Regions from separate parts of the Homo sapiens genome. Here region 2 is linked to region 1. Evidence: promoter capture Hi-C in human tissues and cell types (Jung and others, 2019). All regions are on one chromosome and are shown on one strand. Each heading gives the region's core, a stretch centred on a gene start or on the middle of the fragment in contact. The rest is flanking DNA. Distances are from core to core; before and after follow the strand shown. Region 1 holds the start of HAL (histidine ammonia-lyase). Region 2 has its middle 59 kb from the start of USP44.

Evidence for each region. Contacts are between HindIII fragments. The study calls those that stand out against the background at their distance.
Region 2: a fragment that was not itself captured here is called in contact with the fragment with the promoter of HAL in region 1 in 2 of the 25 tissues and cell types used here (aorta and hippocampus).

The regions. Positions count from the first base shown.
Region 1 is chr12:95,993,557-96,001,293 of GRCh38, forward strand. It overlaps HAL (histidine ammonia-lyase), which reads right to left and starts at 2,788. Exons shown (of 21, transcript NM_002108.4): 1 at 2,522-2,788; 2 at 2,108-2,435; 3 at 1,377-1,437; 4 at 1,242-1,269; 5 at 534-608; 6 at 370-442; 7 at 216-282. The coding sequence starts at 2,354. LOC102723340 (a long non-coding RNA gene) reads left to right here and starts at 2,926. Exons shown (of 4, transcript XR_945237.4): 1 at 2,926-3,074; 2 at 4,775-4,871; 3 at 6,535-6,704. LTA4H (leukotriene A4 hydrolase) reads right to left here. Exons shown (of 19, transcript NM_000895.3): 19 at 7,197-7,550. The coding sequence ends at 7,433. RefSeq lists enhancers at 3,001-3,170, 4,395-4,689, 5,136-5,195. The HindIII fragment of the contact is 2,850 bases long and covers 361-3,210 here.
Region 2 is chr12:95,606,800-95,614,536 of GRCh38, forward strand. No RefSeq gene overlaps it. Among named protein-coding and RNA genes, the nearest start is that of USP44, 59 kb to the left of the region's middle. RefSeq lists enhancers at 4,365-4,933, 4,934-5,502. The HindIII fragment of the contact is 5,580 bases long and covers 1,892-7,471 here.

The DNA of each region.
Region 1 (7,737 bases), core at 1,538-4,037:
TGAAGGGAATCATGGTCAAATCCTTGGAGGGACAGAAGGAAGGCAATGGGAGAAACCAGCCAGCCTGGGTTTTCAATACCAACTCACATGCAAGGTAACCCAAGCCTCATCCTCTGATCTGTAAATTGGGGCAAATGTGAATTATTTCCCTTGTTGAAAAATATTTAAAAGATGAGGGTAGGTGGAACGTGAACATATGTGTGTTTTAAACTTACTGTAGCTTATTGATAGGAATTACAGTTCTGGCAAATTTCCCAAAACCTGTAGTAATACCGTAAACAACTAGAATAAAAAGAGACATTATGCAATTAAATGCAGGGATTTTTGTTTGTTTATAAAAATATTTATAACATAAAGATAAAAAGATACCTGTTTTCTCTTTTATGATGCTATCTATGACCTCCCTGGATTTCTGCACCCTCTTCTCAGCTGTTGGGGTGAGCTAGGAAAATGTTGATCAGAACTGAGCACGTTAAAGACTTCCACGGGCAACAAAAATGGCCAGAGGACATCTTTCCCCTCCCTCCCCATACCTTTATTTTGTAGCGTCCCTTTCCCAAGTTGACCAGATCCTCCGTGGTCAGACGGTCTCCATCTAACTCGATGTACTACACAAAAGAAGGGGATCTCAGTGAGTCTGAACAGCTTGATTATTCTAACCAGAGTAGGGACACCTCCAACAGAACCAAACTGACATTTCAGAGATCTGATCATTGCGTGAAACATGAATATGCTAAATAAAAATGCATCTTGCATAAGAGGAGGCTTATTGGTGCAAAAGCATAATGCCTTTCCAAGCCCCCTTTCCCCACTACAGAGCTGGATAAAGCCCTGTGGTTGGTTGGTTTGTTTGTTTTGAGGCAGAGTCTCCAGCCCAGGCTGGAGTGCAGTGGTACAAACATGGCTCACTGCAACCTCTGCCTCCTGGGTTCAAGCAATTCTCGTGCCTCAGGCTCCTGAGTAGCTGGTATTACAGGTGCACGCCACCATACCTGGCTAATTTTTGTACTTTTAGTAGAGATGGGGTTTCACCATGTTGGCCAGGCTGGTTTCAAACTGATGACCTCAAGTGAACTGCCCACCTCGGCCACCCAAAGTGCTGGGACTACAGACATGAGTCACTGCTCCCGGCCAGCCCTGTTCTAATTGACAGTGTTTTCTCAGAAGTTTTCCTGGCTTTCCTCCCTCTTAAATAAGGGGCCTTAATTTTCTGAAGAAAAAGAAAGTGGTTTGAAGCTTACCTTTTCAGGCTCCCGGTACTTGCTGTATCTGTATCCAGGTAAAGGAACATATAGGGTGGTGTGGAAAAACCCCCAGCCCCACCATCTGCAGGAGCCACCCCCAGAGCAGACCAAAGAGCCTGTGGGAAAGGATACAGATAAACTCCTTCTGGTTGAGATGGAATGAAGTCAGGAGACATGGCATCACCCTCTATAACTAAAACAATGCACGGGAGACTCGTTACAGATCACATTGTACAGCCATGTTCCCCCTGTTAAACCAAGGAACGGCCCATCATTGGCCCATGAATTCTATAGAAATGGCTGCTTTAAAACTGCTTCAGATGGTTTCATGTGGTCTTAGCATCTTTATGTAGGAGGAGAGCAAAAAGCAGAAAGGTAGGTGTCAGGGCAGAGACCAGGGGTTTAGATGAAAGTTCAAGACAGAATTCCACTTCCATCCCCATTCCCAGCTTTATTTTCTTCAAAATCTGAACTGATGCTATGCTGCCGGCCTCCAGTCTGGGGGTGGGGGTGGATTCTTTCGAAAGGCAAAATAACCTCAAAATGATTCAGTCACTGCAAAGGGATTCAGACCTGCAGCCTTGAGTACCAGTCTAGTCTTTGTTACTTACTAGCTGCTGGAGTCTGGGTAAGTTACCTCCTCTCTGATTTCTCCTCCATCAGAGGTGGAGGAGAATCCTACCCATCTCACAGGGTTGTGTGAGGACTTAAGATCCCCAGAGGCGTGGCATGTGCCTGCACAGGGCCAGCCTCGGCAAGCCTGACCTCTGCTCATCATTTTCCCTGAGGTGGGGGTTCAATGCTGCAAAGACTAAGCCAGGCCAAACCGCACCCGTTCGCGGCCCTCTCCTGCAGCCACTCACCCACTTCCACGAACTCGTTGTTCTCTAGGGCCACCTCGAGCCGGTCCTCGTTGTCCAGCAGGCCCAGGCCCTTGCACCGGCGCACAAGGAAGTGCGCGTCATCCACGGAGGTGAAGCCACCATTGTCGGGCTTATTCTTGATATAGCGCCTCACGGCCTCCCGGCCCAGCCAGCCCACAGTGAGCTGCGCGTCCTGGCAGGGCACTGCCAGCCATTCCCCACGTACGTGCACCGTGTATCTGGGCATGGCTCCGCTGCAGCCTGAGGTCCTCAGCTGGTCACAGGAGGGGAGAGCTTTATGCAGGAGTGGCTACCGGGGTGTGGTCAGCTGGAAGGATGAGAATAGACTTTCAAACCACTCCCCCTCCTTCACCTTTACTCATTCATGCATTGGACAAATATTTATTGAGGTACCTGCTGTCCCTTTGGTTTTTGTAGCCGAGCAGGGGCAGGAGCAGGGGATGCAGACGGGTGAGCCTCCTGTCCACTTTCCATCCAGACCTGCTGCCAGAAAGGCCTGGGGTCTCCCACCCTGGGAGGTGCTGTTCTTGTCCCTGATGGCACCTACCTGCTGCTGGCCCCCTTTCTTCAGGGTCCCCAATTTCTCTCTCTTCCCTCGTTTCTGTCTGTGTTCTCTGCCATTAAGGGCAGCTTATAAACACCATGTTCCTGTCTTTATCTGAGATTACTCAACTGTAAAACGTGTTCTGTGGGCCAACTGTGACACTGGGAGTGTGGCAATCGTCACTCATTTGTTTATTCCACAAACATGTATTGAGCAACTACTTCCTGTCACCAGTAAGGTTTTCTGAAGCTTTCTTTCCACCAGGGAAGACTGCAAAGGCCAGAGATCATTTTCACAACTAAAGGTCGTCATCTGGGCAAATGAACCACTCTGACTTGGAGATTAGGGGCTCAGACAGCCGTGGATGAGAGTCCAGCTCTACTACTTATTAGCCTTGATTAGGTGAGTATTACCCTGTATTTCCTTATCAGAAGGCCTAGGGGCTAACTGCCTCCTTCCAGTATGTGCAGGATTTACCTGTGATCAAATCCTGGCTCTGCCATTTGCTAAGTGTATGACTTGTGGGCAAGTGATTTGACTTCTCTGGGCCTCAGTTGCCTCATCTGTAAAATGAAGATAATGGTAATGATGATAGTATATATGTCAAAGGGCTATTGGGAGGATGAAGTCAGTTCATATATGTAAAGCCCTCAACACAACACCTGGCATAGTGGAAATATTATAGAAGTGTCTGTGATTACTAGTATCTGGACACCAATACTCCATGTAACTATAATGCTTTATAAATGTTCTGTATGAATCATAAAGCTATAAAGTTCCATAAATGCTCTTTCATCTTGGCACATGGATATCCCTCACCCAATTAAGCTTCTTCACCACAGATAACTGCTCCCTGCACCCGCCTTATTACCATTGGTATTAAGGAACTCTGGATAGCATGATTACGGCATCAAAGATATGCAGATGCTATTTTGACTAAGCAGCACTTTCATCGTAAGCCAATTTTTAGAGATTTGATTATTGCACTAGAAAAATCCTGAAAAGTCTGTTTCCACTAAATCAGACTTCTGTTGGGAAGAGAGACATGGTTGCTCAAGAAAAACACCTATACTCATACCCAGAGTCCCTCTCATCTGCTGACAGCTTCCCAGGAAGCGTACAAATAGCTACCCTTCCTTGAGCCTTATTGAAACTTGCTCTTCAGATACCCACACCATGACTGCACCCTGGAATTTGTCATGACCTGAATTTGACACACTTAAGAAATCACCCTGGAATCTGTCACGACCTGAATTTGACACACTTAAGAAATCTGAAATTCCAATATTCCACCTTCTGACCACAACCTTCCAGCTGCCCTTTTACTCTAGTCACTGCCAGCCTTGGACCTGACCTCCAGTCAGTCTCTTCATCCCTCCACTTCCCACCAGCATCCTCACTTACTATCCTAGGAAGCTGGTCCCTAGTCGCTCACTGGACCACTCTTTCTTAAGCACTCTGAGATTCCTTTGCATCCCTAAACTTATGTCTACACTTGGAATAACACCCATCCCCTTAGTCATCACAAAAAACAGCCATCTCTTGGAAGGATTGCTTAAGCCTAGGCAGTCAATGCTGCAATGAGTTATGATTATACCACTGTACTCCAGCCTGGGTGAGAGCAAGACCCTGTTTAAAATTAAAAGAAACTGTCATATCTGTTCACCCAGGCAGAAGACACTGATAGAGAAAGTCCTGTGATCACATAGTTTGATGGTATTGCCCTTTTATTCCATCCAGCCCACAGTGACTTTCCAAAACTTTGACCCCTCTGCCAGGACCTTCTCGACATCCACCTCTAATTCTCAGAAGGAGACCTTACTTCCTACATCTGTGAGAAAACTGAGGACTGCACATGTGAACCACCTTAACCTTCTGCCCCACCCCCCCCCATTCATTCCTTGACTCATTTAACAAATATTTTTTCAACACCTGTTATGTAACAAGCTCTATGCGAGGTGCTGGGGATGAAATAAATAACAAACACGCTCTACATTCATGAGGCTTACTGTCTGGTGATGGATAAAGCTGTATAAAGATGACTAATAAGAGGTCTAACTATCTTCATGCTGCAAAACAACCCAAACTACTGCATGCTCCAGTTGACTGTCACTGCCGAGACCAGCTTCTGAGTAATTTCAGCCCAGGCATCAGACTAGTGAGGGAAGGAGCTTCCAGGTGATACCACCTCCCAGCCATGTAAGTCACCCCCAGCAGTTTGAGGATTCTAAACTCAGGCCCTACGCATTGTGGAGCAGAGTCTTCCTTGTTATTCTTTCTCCAGAAACGCACTTTCCAACTTCCTTTGCCTGTCTAGATCTTTCTTACTCCTTAAGCCTGTTTAGGCCTTTTCTTCTCCAGGAAGCATTCCCTAAATTCTTCAGTTGGGTTAAGTGGCCCTTCTCTGGGATGCCTTAGCATAGCTCTTCTTTAGTATTATCTAGGAAATTACTTGTCTGTGTTCATCCATAATTATGTATATATCCGATCTGGCACAAAGACATTTAGCATATGCTTACTAGCTGAACTGAAGAAATGTGAACTGCACCGAGCTGGCCCCTAGGTAAACCAGCAAGCAGGATTAAGTTTGTCTTTAGCGCCCTCTACCTTCTTCACAGCACCCTTCCATGCCACCCTTCAAGCATCCCTTGTCACAATTCACTTTCAGTATCACTAAGTGATAACTAAAAACGACATTAACTTACAGCTTGTCTTGTAAGCTCATAGGGCAGAAGCCTTAAAGAGCAGTATTTGGGTAAATGGATTTGCTAAAGTCTAATCTTAGAACATGATCTTATGCCAGTGATTTGAGCTGAACTCCCTTCTCTGTATTCTTGGCAAGGAAGGCAAGGGAGAGCAGAGCCTGGAGAAAGAATCACACTGCAGCATAGATAAGTGACCAAGAGGACAGAACGAGGCGGGTGGATTGCTTGAGCCCAGGAGTTCGAGACCAGCCTGGGCAACATGGCCAAACTCTTTCTCTACAAAACAAAAATTAGCCAGACATGGTGGTGCATGCCTGTAGTCTCAGCTACTCCAGAGGCTGAGGTGGGAGGATGGCTTGAACCCAGAGGCTGATGCTGCAGTGAGCTATGGTCATGCCACTGCACTCCAGCCTGGGCGACAGAGTGAGACCCTGTCTCAAAACAAAACAAAACAAAAACTGCTAGGGAGAGTGAGAGCCAGGGAAAAGTCAGGATTCCGGGAATAGGCAGGAATATGTCTCTTCCATACCTGTCCCACCTTGGGTGTTCACTCCTATTGTAACTTTAGTCACTGCATTAGCACTTTGAGGGGTTATTTGGTCAGGACACCGCTCCCCACCCCCACCCCATGCCAACAATTATACTCTAAGACACCATTCCTCTTACACAATTTATTTGACCAGAGGTGGACCCAACCTGGGTTAGAGTCTCACCTCTGGGAATTTGGAATTGTGATAGCCTCCCCATGTGGTCAGAGCTATTTGTAACAGTAAAGCTGGAGAGTGGCCGGCCTGTACAACGTGGACTAGAGAGGCAGAGGTGAGGGACAGGAGCACTGACGGTGCTGCAGTCCTGGGCATCAGACCCCTTCTGTCCGTCCCAGGTTCTGATAATCTCCCCATACCTAGCATCCTTAAAATAATCTTCCTTTTCCCTTTTTGACTTCTGGTCACTTGGATTGCTGTTACTTGCAATCAAAGAATTCTAACACAGCTATGGTTCTAATTAATTCTAACTAATAGAGCTAATACACTAATAATTCTACCTAGTACAGCTATGTGTGCTGAGATGCCCTGGGGCACTACGTTGCATTGGCAGGGGTGCTTTGTTATGTTTGTCTTTTATTTGGTTCAAGTTATTTTGTTGTCTTTGAACAGACTGTGAGAGGGATGGGAAAGACTGGTGCTTGGGGTGGCCATCTGACCCCTGATGGACAGGAGACCAGGACAAGCCCACTGGATGAGCCGGAGGGGTCCAGGAGGAGGGAGTTGAGAGCTCCTGCTAGGGTTGACACATTCTGGTAAGGAGTTCATCTGCTGTCCACCAGGTAGGTGGTGTGCAAATACAACTAAGCATTCATGTTTAAGGTTTTTTTTTAATTTTTTATTTTTCGAGGCAGAGTCTCCATTGCCCAGGCTGGAGTGCAATGGCGCCATCTCGGCTCACTACAACCCCTGCCTCCCAGATTAAAGTGCTTATCCTCCCTCAGCCTCCTGAGTAGCTGGAATTACAGTCGTGCCTCCACGCCCAGCTAATTTTTGTATTTTTAGTAGAGACGGGGTTTCACCATGTTGGCCAGGCTGGTCTCAAACTCCTGACCTCAGGTGATTCACCCGCCTTGGCCTCCCAAAGTGCTGGGATTACAGGCATGAACCACTGCGCCCGGACTTATGTTTAAGGTTATTTAAAAAGCAAAGCAAAATCCTAACCATGTTGAATTTTTGAATCTGCAGCAGATTCAAATTAATGAATTTAAATCATATATCAGGTAAAATACTACCTTGACATATTTTGTGATCATACTGAGAGAAAATTAATATAAAGCTAATTCAAAATTTTTTAATTTGTAAATCAAAAGATTAAACCTTGTTAAAATTTACAAAGAATATGCCACTATAAGAAGAAGTAGCTCAACTTTATTTCAGTAAAATCACCAACAAAACAATAAAAAGCCAAAACTAAAAAGACAGTTTTAATTGTGAGCTGAAGTTTTATATTTCTTTACGAATTCCATTTAAAAAAGAGAAATCTCTAAAATCATCAATACGCAGGTCTTTAATCCACTTTTAAGTCTTTCCCCACCAGCATTGCAGTCACGGGATGCATGCTTGCTTTGTGCTCTTGGTAGGTTCGGACAGCTTGATCATGGGATTTGTCAAAGGCAGCAAGATCCCTGCCAAAAAAGAAAAAATTGAAAAGAAAGAAAGGCGAGAAGGAGACAGAGGAGGAGAAAGGGAGGGAGAGAAGAAAGAAAGGAGGGAAGGGGTTCAGAGGAAAGGAAAAAGGAAGGAGAAAGAGAATAAGAACACAAGTCAATACCCAAGATTAAATTAAAGGATGTCAGCAGGGGTGACAGCCAG
Region 2 (7,737 bases), core at 3,432-5,931, 380 kb before region 1:
CTTTTCAAAATCCTGTAGCAAGTCTGACATGGTACTGATGTGGCACTATATCCCTTGATTCTGAAGATGCCAGTTGGAAGCAGCAACCAAAGATAACGTTTCTTTGCTTTTGTTGTTAACCTGAAGTCATTGTAAAGAAGTTGAATGACCTCTTGACATTTAGGAGATGTTAAATGACCTCAGAGCCAGTTTTTCACTAGTAAGGATATAATAAATAACTTGAATTTCACTAAATGCAAGTTAGTTGCAGGTTCCAACCTGCAATTCTGGTTAAACATAAATATCCTAAAGGCAGTATACTTGTAAAGAAAATTTCCATATATTGCATAACGTATTCACACTTTGCCCATCATTCAAGGCATTGCATGTGCTATTGTCAACTTCCCTAACCACCTTTTAAATTTATCATCAACATAAAATTAAGAAGAATAGTGAAATTCTTTTCATATTGATGACAGTCCACTATTTTCTACAGAGCAAGATAATCAAAACAAAATAATTGGTCATTTTGAAGAAGAAATTTACTGAATGAAGCAGTTGGAAAGAATGGATTACAGTTGTTTTTGAGAAAGTTTACATTAATTGTTCACATTAAAAATATATCTTCCAAGTATCTTCTCTGCTTTCCTTAGTCGTTTTAGCAAAGGCATCTGTGTTTATTTATTTACCTAATAAGTAGTTATTCTCTAAATTCTTACCTCTAAGTTCTCTAACTTATTCTTTAAGTTCTTGTCTCTAAGAACATTTATTTACCTAATTATTTATTCATTTACCTAATGTCATCTTTTGGTCCCATAATTTTAAATAAGTGCAAAGTGATGTTTATACTGCCAGTTTGGAGTTTTGCAGTAGCAGGTGTGATTGTCTTATAAAACTCTTTTGATATAGCCAATGTCATGTTCCTTATTCGTGTGTTATTTTCGAAATGTATTCAAGGCAGCACCCCCGAGACAGCTGTGACAATAATGCCCCCCCCCCCATGACAACAGAGGAACTGTGCCAAAGCTCAGCAAAACAAAATTTACTTGGCAGGGGAGAGAGTTTAGAGGCTTTTCACAGCTCTTTGGAAATGCTAATAAGGTCTCAACCTTGAACCATGTTTGCTTTTTATCTGGGAAACCCTTTCCAGTTACAATAGCATTGATATACTAAGAGATTCCAAGTTAGGAGTTTATACAGTAGGTTTATGAGACAGGTAATCCAAAAGTCAGGTGCTCCCTCTTCGCTTGGAAGAACAGTGCATTTTGGGACATTTTAAAGCACATTGTCAACTTCTTTGGCCTTTTTTTTTTTTTTTTTTTTTTTTTTTTGAGTTGGAGTCTTTACTCTGTCGCCCAGGCTGGAGCGCAATGGCGCGATCTCGGCTCACTACTACAACCTCTGCTTCCTGGATTCAAGTGATTCTCCTGCCTCAACTTCCTGAGTAGCTGGGATTACAGGTGCGTGCCACCATGCCCAGCTAATTTTTATATTTTTAGTAGAGATGGGGTTCTACCGTGTTGGTCAGGCTGGCCTCGAACTCCTGACCTCGTGATCCACCCACCTCGGCCTCTCAAAGTGCTGGGATTACAAACGTGAGCCACCGCATCTGGCCGGCTCCTTTAACCACTACTTATAACAGGCTCACAGCCTCAAGGTTGGCAGGCTTTACCGCCAGGCGTAATGTTGTGTTAATGTGGGTGAAGTACATTTGCAATGTGCAAATAGTTGACTCACAGCTCTAATTTTGTTCTTCTGAGTAGCTCTTTTAAGCTTCCCTGCCCTTTTTGTCTTATGTTGCTTAGATGACTGGAGAAAAATATTATTATCTGATGGCTCAATTTAAAGACCCACGATTAAACCAACTGAGCTCAGCCTTCACACTCACACCTACCTTTCAATATCTGGCACTAATCTTTTAAATACCTTGTCAGAGGAATACTGTTTCCTGGGTGTGTTCAAACTAGTCATGTTGTTATGTCCCAAAAACAGTGGGATCCTTTTCAGACGAAAAACACATGAAGGCTCAAAGCCAAGCTGCTGCGTAAAAGCTTTCCCTTTCCTTCCTCTGACCCATCCTCTTTGGAATAATTAGATGAATGGTGCTTTTTTCTGTGATTTATCTGTGTTTTTAAAGGCAAAACTCCCATGAAGAGATGGGCTATTAAGAATTCTCACAGTTGGCTGGGCATAGTGGCTCACGCCTGTAATCCCAGCTCTTCTGGAGGCTGAGGAGGGTGGATTGCTTGAGATCAGGAGTTCAAGACCAGCCTGGCCAACATGGTGAAACTCCCGTCTCTACTAAAAATCCAAAATAGCCAGGCTTGGTGGCAGGCGTCTGTAATCCCAGCTACTCAGGAGGCTGAGGCAGGAGGATGGCTTGAACCTGGGAGGTGGAGGTTGCAGTGAGCCAAGATTTTGCCGCTGCACTCCAGCCTGGGCAATGGAGCAAGACTGTCTCAAACGGACAAACCAAAAAAGGATTCCCACAGTGAACACTTTCAACTATTTGTTTGAAAATTTTTATTCCTCTTTTGCTGTGTCTAAAAGACTAAGAATCTTGAGGAGTTATGTATAAAAAGCTCTAACTCTCCTTTTGATAATTTTTAGAGTTAGTAATTTATAGCCTAAAGAATTATATAAGGCTGGGCACAGTGGCTCACACCTGTAATCCCAGCACTTTGGGAGGCTGAGGTGGGCCGATCACTTGAGGTCAGCAGTTTGAGAACAGCCTGACCAACATGGTGAAACCCCATTTCTACAAAAAACAAAACAAAAACAAAAACAAAATTAGCCGGATATGGTGGCACATGCCTGTAATTCCAGCTACTTGGTAGGCTGAGACAGGAGGGAGGCAGAGGTTGCAGTGAGCAAAGATCGCACTACTGCACTCCAGTTTGGGCAACAAGAGTGAAACTTTGTCTCAAAAAAAAGAATATATAAGGTGACATCATTTAGTATAAACACAGATAATATAGGATCTTGGAAAATATGAGTCGTATCAGTACTTAGCAGCAATCAGGTCATTTACTAGTTATGAGTAATTGACTCAAAATGTATCTTTTTCTACAAAAGAAACATTATTATTATGAGTAGGCTGCTTAGCATGCATATTATCATTTATTTAGTACTGAATGTCATAGTGTCTTTCTTTTTATTATTCTCATGTTTCTAAAGCAATAAGAAAAACAGATGGGATAGGCCGGGCGCAGTGGCTCACGCCTGTAATCCCAGCACTTTGGGAGGCCGAGGCGGGCGGATCACGAGGTCAGGAAATTGAGACCATCCTGGCTAACACGGTGAAACCCCGTCTCTACTAAAAATACAAAAAAAATTAGCCGGGCGTGGTGTCAGGCGCCTGTAGTCCCAGCTACTTGGGAGGCTGAGGCAGGAGAATGGCGTGAACCCGGGAGGCGGAGCTTGCAGTGAGCCGAGATCGCGCCACTGCACTCATGACTGGGCAACAGAGCGAGACTCTGTCTCAAAAAAAAAAAAAAAAAAGCAGATGGGATAAAAACAACAGAAGAATATTATCCATGTGTTTATGCAAATAACATGGCTTAAACATTTTGTGATAGCTAAGTTAGTGCTCTGAATAATAATTTGTATGCACTGAGTAGTCAAAATTTAAAAATGTGGAAACTTACATTTACACTGATTTCAAATTAAATTGATTTAGGAACCAAAGTATACTTTCATGATGAAATTATTTTTTAGTGTTTCAACAACTATACCTACCGTTTTTTTCACCCTTTTCTTTTAAAATAAAAATATATGTGTGCATATGTATTTAAATAAAATAATGCTTATTATAGAAAATTTGGAAAAAAAAAAACCCTGAAATTGCATCAGATAATTACTTCTGATAATTAGAACATTTTGACATCAAAATCAGCATAAACTCACGTTTTACTATCTGCTCTTCCTCCCACCATATGTTGATATTTTATACATTTTATTATTTCTTTAAATATTATTTGCTTACATGATTTTGAAGCTTAATCAAATGAACATACCACAATTTATTAAACAAAATTTCTATTGTTGGACATTCAGATTGGGTTCAACTTTTTCTTTTTATAGTAACATTCAGCAGAACACCATTGAACATAAATCTTTGAATGCATGTTGATTATTTCCTTAGGATAAACCCCTAAATCTAAGATTACGGCGACCAGAGTTACTTCAATTTTAACTGGTGAAATAATTTAAAAATTGTTATTTTCTTCTTCTTCTTTCTTCTTTCCTTTTTTTTTTTTTTCTTTTTTGAGATGGGATTTTGCCCAGGTGCTATCTTCGCTCACTGCAACCTCTGCCTCCTGGGCTCAAGGGATTCTCTCGCTTCAGTCCCTCAAGTAGCTGGGACTGCAGGCATGTGCCACCATGCCCCAGCTAATTTTTGCATTTTATGTAGAGACGGGGTTTCACTATATTGGTCAGGCTGGTCTCCAACTCCTGAGCTCAAGTGATCTGCCCATCTTGGCCTCCCAAAGTGCTGGGATTATAGGCATGAACCACCATGCCTGGCCCCCAAAATTGTTATTTTCAAGTCTAAAATTTCTTTCAGCTTCTACATGACAGATAATTCTCCTGACAAAATAGTCTTCCTTTTTAAAAAATGTGAAAGATAGTTTTGACTTGTCCAATAAATGAAGCTTTATCAGTGGTTGTGTGTATGTGATTTTGTGAATTTTTTTTGTTTTTTTGAGACAGAGTTTCACTCTTGTTGGCCAGGCTGGAGTGCAATGGTTCACTGCAACCTCTGCCTCCCAGGTTCAAGCGATTCTCCTGCCTCAGCCTCCGAGTAGCTGGGATTACAGGCATGCACCAGCATGCCCAGCTAATTTTGTGTTTTTAGTAGAGACGGGGTTTCACCATGTTGGTCAGGCTGGTGTCGAACTCCTGACCTCAAGTGATACACCTGCCTCAGCCTCCTAAAGTGCTGGGATTACAGGTGTGAGCCACTGCACCAAGCTGATTTTGTGAATATTGCAAATGTATTTGTGGAACAAAATGGCTTGGAGTCCCTCTTAAATGAATGCCCTGTTGTTCTCATCATAGCAATCCACCTACTGCTGTAGGCTTGATGTTATCACTCCTGCCATTCGGGCAGGTGTCTGGAGGGTGGAAGTAGGGACAAAGACCTTAGAAAAGTGGTAGGGTGATGAGAGATAGATTGGGAATTAATAGCAAATCAGGAAAGAAGCAATTAAGTAAATGACGAGAATTGAGGCTGGTTAGAGTAGGTCTGAGAAGCAGAGTAGATACTTTTCTCATTTTAATGAATGCTAATCAGCTGGCCTAGTGAAAACCTCCTCCTGATATGCCAAACACAATGGCTTATGCAAACATTTGATAAAGCATTCTCAGGTGTGTTAGTCATTAAGCCATGACCTTGGGAACAGATTGCATGGCTATATTCCTCAGTCATTTACAGTACACACACAGGTCCATAAATGCAGCTGTGTGAATATAATTAATTACTAACAATTCTTATTTTAGAAGTGGTAGTATCTTGAGAGTAATCCATAGGTAGTGGACAAGAAATAATTAAAAGCTGTTCTGCATTGAGCCTAGCCAGAAGCTCTAAAAGCTATTGTGCTATACTGTCGGAAAAAGGGGAGTTTAATTAATTAATTAATTCATTTATTTATCTTTCTTTTTTTTGAGATGGAGTTTTGCTCTTGTTGCCCAGGCTGGAGTGCAACGGTGTGATCTTGGCTCACCGCAACCTCAGCCTCCTGGGTTCAAGTGATTCTCCTGCCTCAGCCTCCCGAGTAGCTGGGATTACAGGCATGCACCACCACACCCAGCTAATTTTGTATTTTGAGTAGAGGTGGGGTTTCTCCATGTTGGTCAGGCTGGTCTTGAACTCCTGACCTCAGGTGATCCGCCCGCCTCAGCCTCCCAAAGTGCTGGGATTGGGAGTTTTCTTTAAAAGCGATAAAGGACAAGCCCACTGAGAAAGTTATCTGTTGTTACCTAGGATAGTCTTCCTGGTGGTAAAAATCCTTTGGAAACTTTTTTTTTTCTTTTTCTTTTTTGAGACGGAGTTTCGCTCTTGTTGCCCAGGCTGGAGTGTAATGGCTCAATCTTGGCTCACCACAACCTCCGCCTCCCGGGTTCAAGTGATTCTCCTGCCTCAGCCTCCCGAGTAGCTGGGATTACAGGCGCCCACCACCACACTCGGCTAATTTTTGTATTTTTAGTAGAGACAGGGTTTTACCATGTTGGCCAGGCTGGTCTCAAATACCTGACCTTAGGTGATCCACCCGCCTCGGCCTCCCAAAGTGCTAGGATTACAGGTGTGAGCCACCGTGCCTAACCTGGAAACTATTTTCTTCCATCTTAAAATCGAACAGCTGAAATAAATCCGTCCTCCCAAGTTAAAGCATACATCAGGAGGATAATGGGAATCTTGTGAGTCAGAGTTTATCAGAAAGATGAGATGGCCAGGGATGAGGCCAGGCAGGGAGAGGCAATGCTATTAGGACCAACAGATGTAGTCACTGTTGTCACTGACTCTGGTCTTCTGGCCAGGATTGGATCTTTTAGAGCAGCAGTTTCCACATCCAAGCGTCAGACACACTGAGGTGTTAATATCTATTAAGTCAAAATCTTTGGGAACGGGGCTTGAGAATCTTAAAAAAAAAAAAACTTTTCACTGGGTGCAGTGGTTCACACCTGTAATCCCAGCGCTTTGGGAGGCTGAGCGGGGAGGATCAGAATTTTTGGGGGGGCTTTAGCCCAGGAGTTCAAGACCAGCCCTTTTTTTTTTTTTTTTTGTAGAGATGAGGCCTCCCTACGGGCAACATTAGCTGGGCGTGGTGGTGCATACCCCTAGTCCTAGCTATGTGGGAGGATTTCTTGAGCTCAGGAGGTTGAGGCAGCAGTGAGCCATGACTGCATCACTGCACTCCAGCCTGGGTGACAGAGTGAGACCCTGTCTCAAAAAACAAAACAGCAACAGCTTTTCAACTCAGCCAGGTTAGAAGCTACTATCTTGGAGCTTTCCCATTTTCAAGTTGTTAGATCAGTGACTGTGGCCATTTGGCCTAGTGGGGGTTTCTTAAAACAACAGCCTCCAAAGGGAGGATGTTGGAAGAAAACATTAGAAATATTTATATATTTAAAAATCTCATCCTTAGCCAGGAGTGGTGGCTCATGCCTGTAATCCCAGCACTTTGGGAGGCTGAGGCGGGCGGACCACTTGGGGCCAGGAGTTCGAGACCAGCCTGGCCAACATGGAGAAATTCCGCCTCTACTAAAAATACAAAAATTAGCCGGGTGTGGTGGTGGGCACCTATAATGCCAGCTACTTGAGAGGTTGAGGTAGGAGCATTGCTTGAACCCGGGAGGCAGAGATTGCAGTGAGCCAAGATGGCGCCACTGCACTCCAGCCTGGGTGACAGTGTGAGACTCCATCTCAAAAACAAAAACAAAAACAAAAACCTCATCCTTTAAAATGTTCTGTATTTTTATGTTTTATCAAATGCATAATATATGAGGTCATATTATATGATATAATTTAGAAATAAATATACATATAGTGGGATTTGTGCTCAAAATGTTTTATTGGTAGAGTTGAGCAGTCAAAAAAAAAAAAAAGTCTTGGACCCACTACCTTGGAGGGCTTGAAAAATGAAAACTTATCCTTAAGAGGCAGGTATCCAAAAGCGATGTTTGGCCTTCAGAAGTAGATATAATGGACCATATACTTTTAGAGTCACATGACCAACCCAGACAGGACAAAGATAA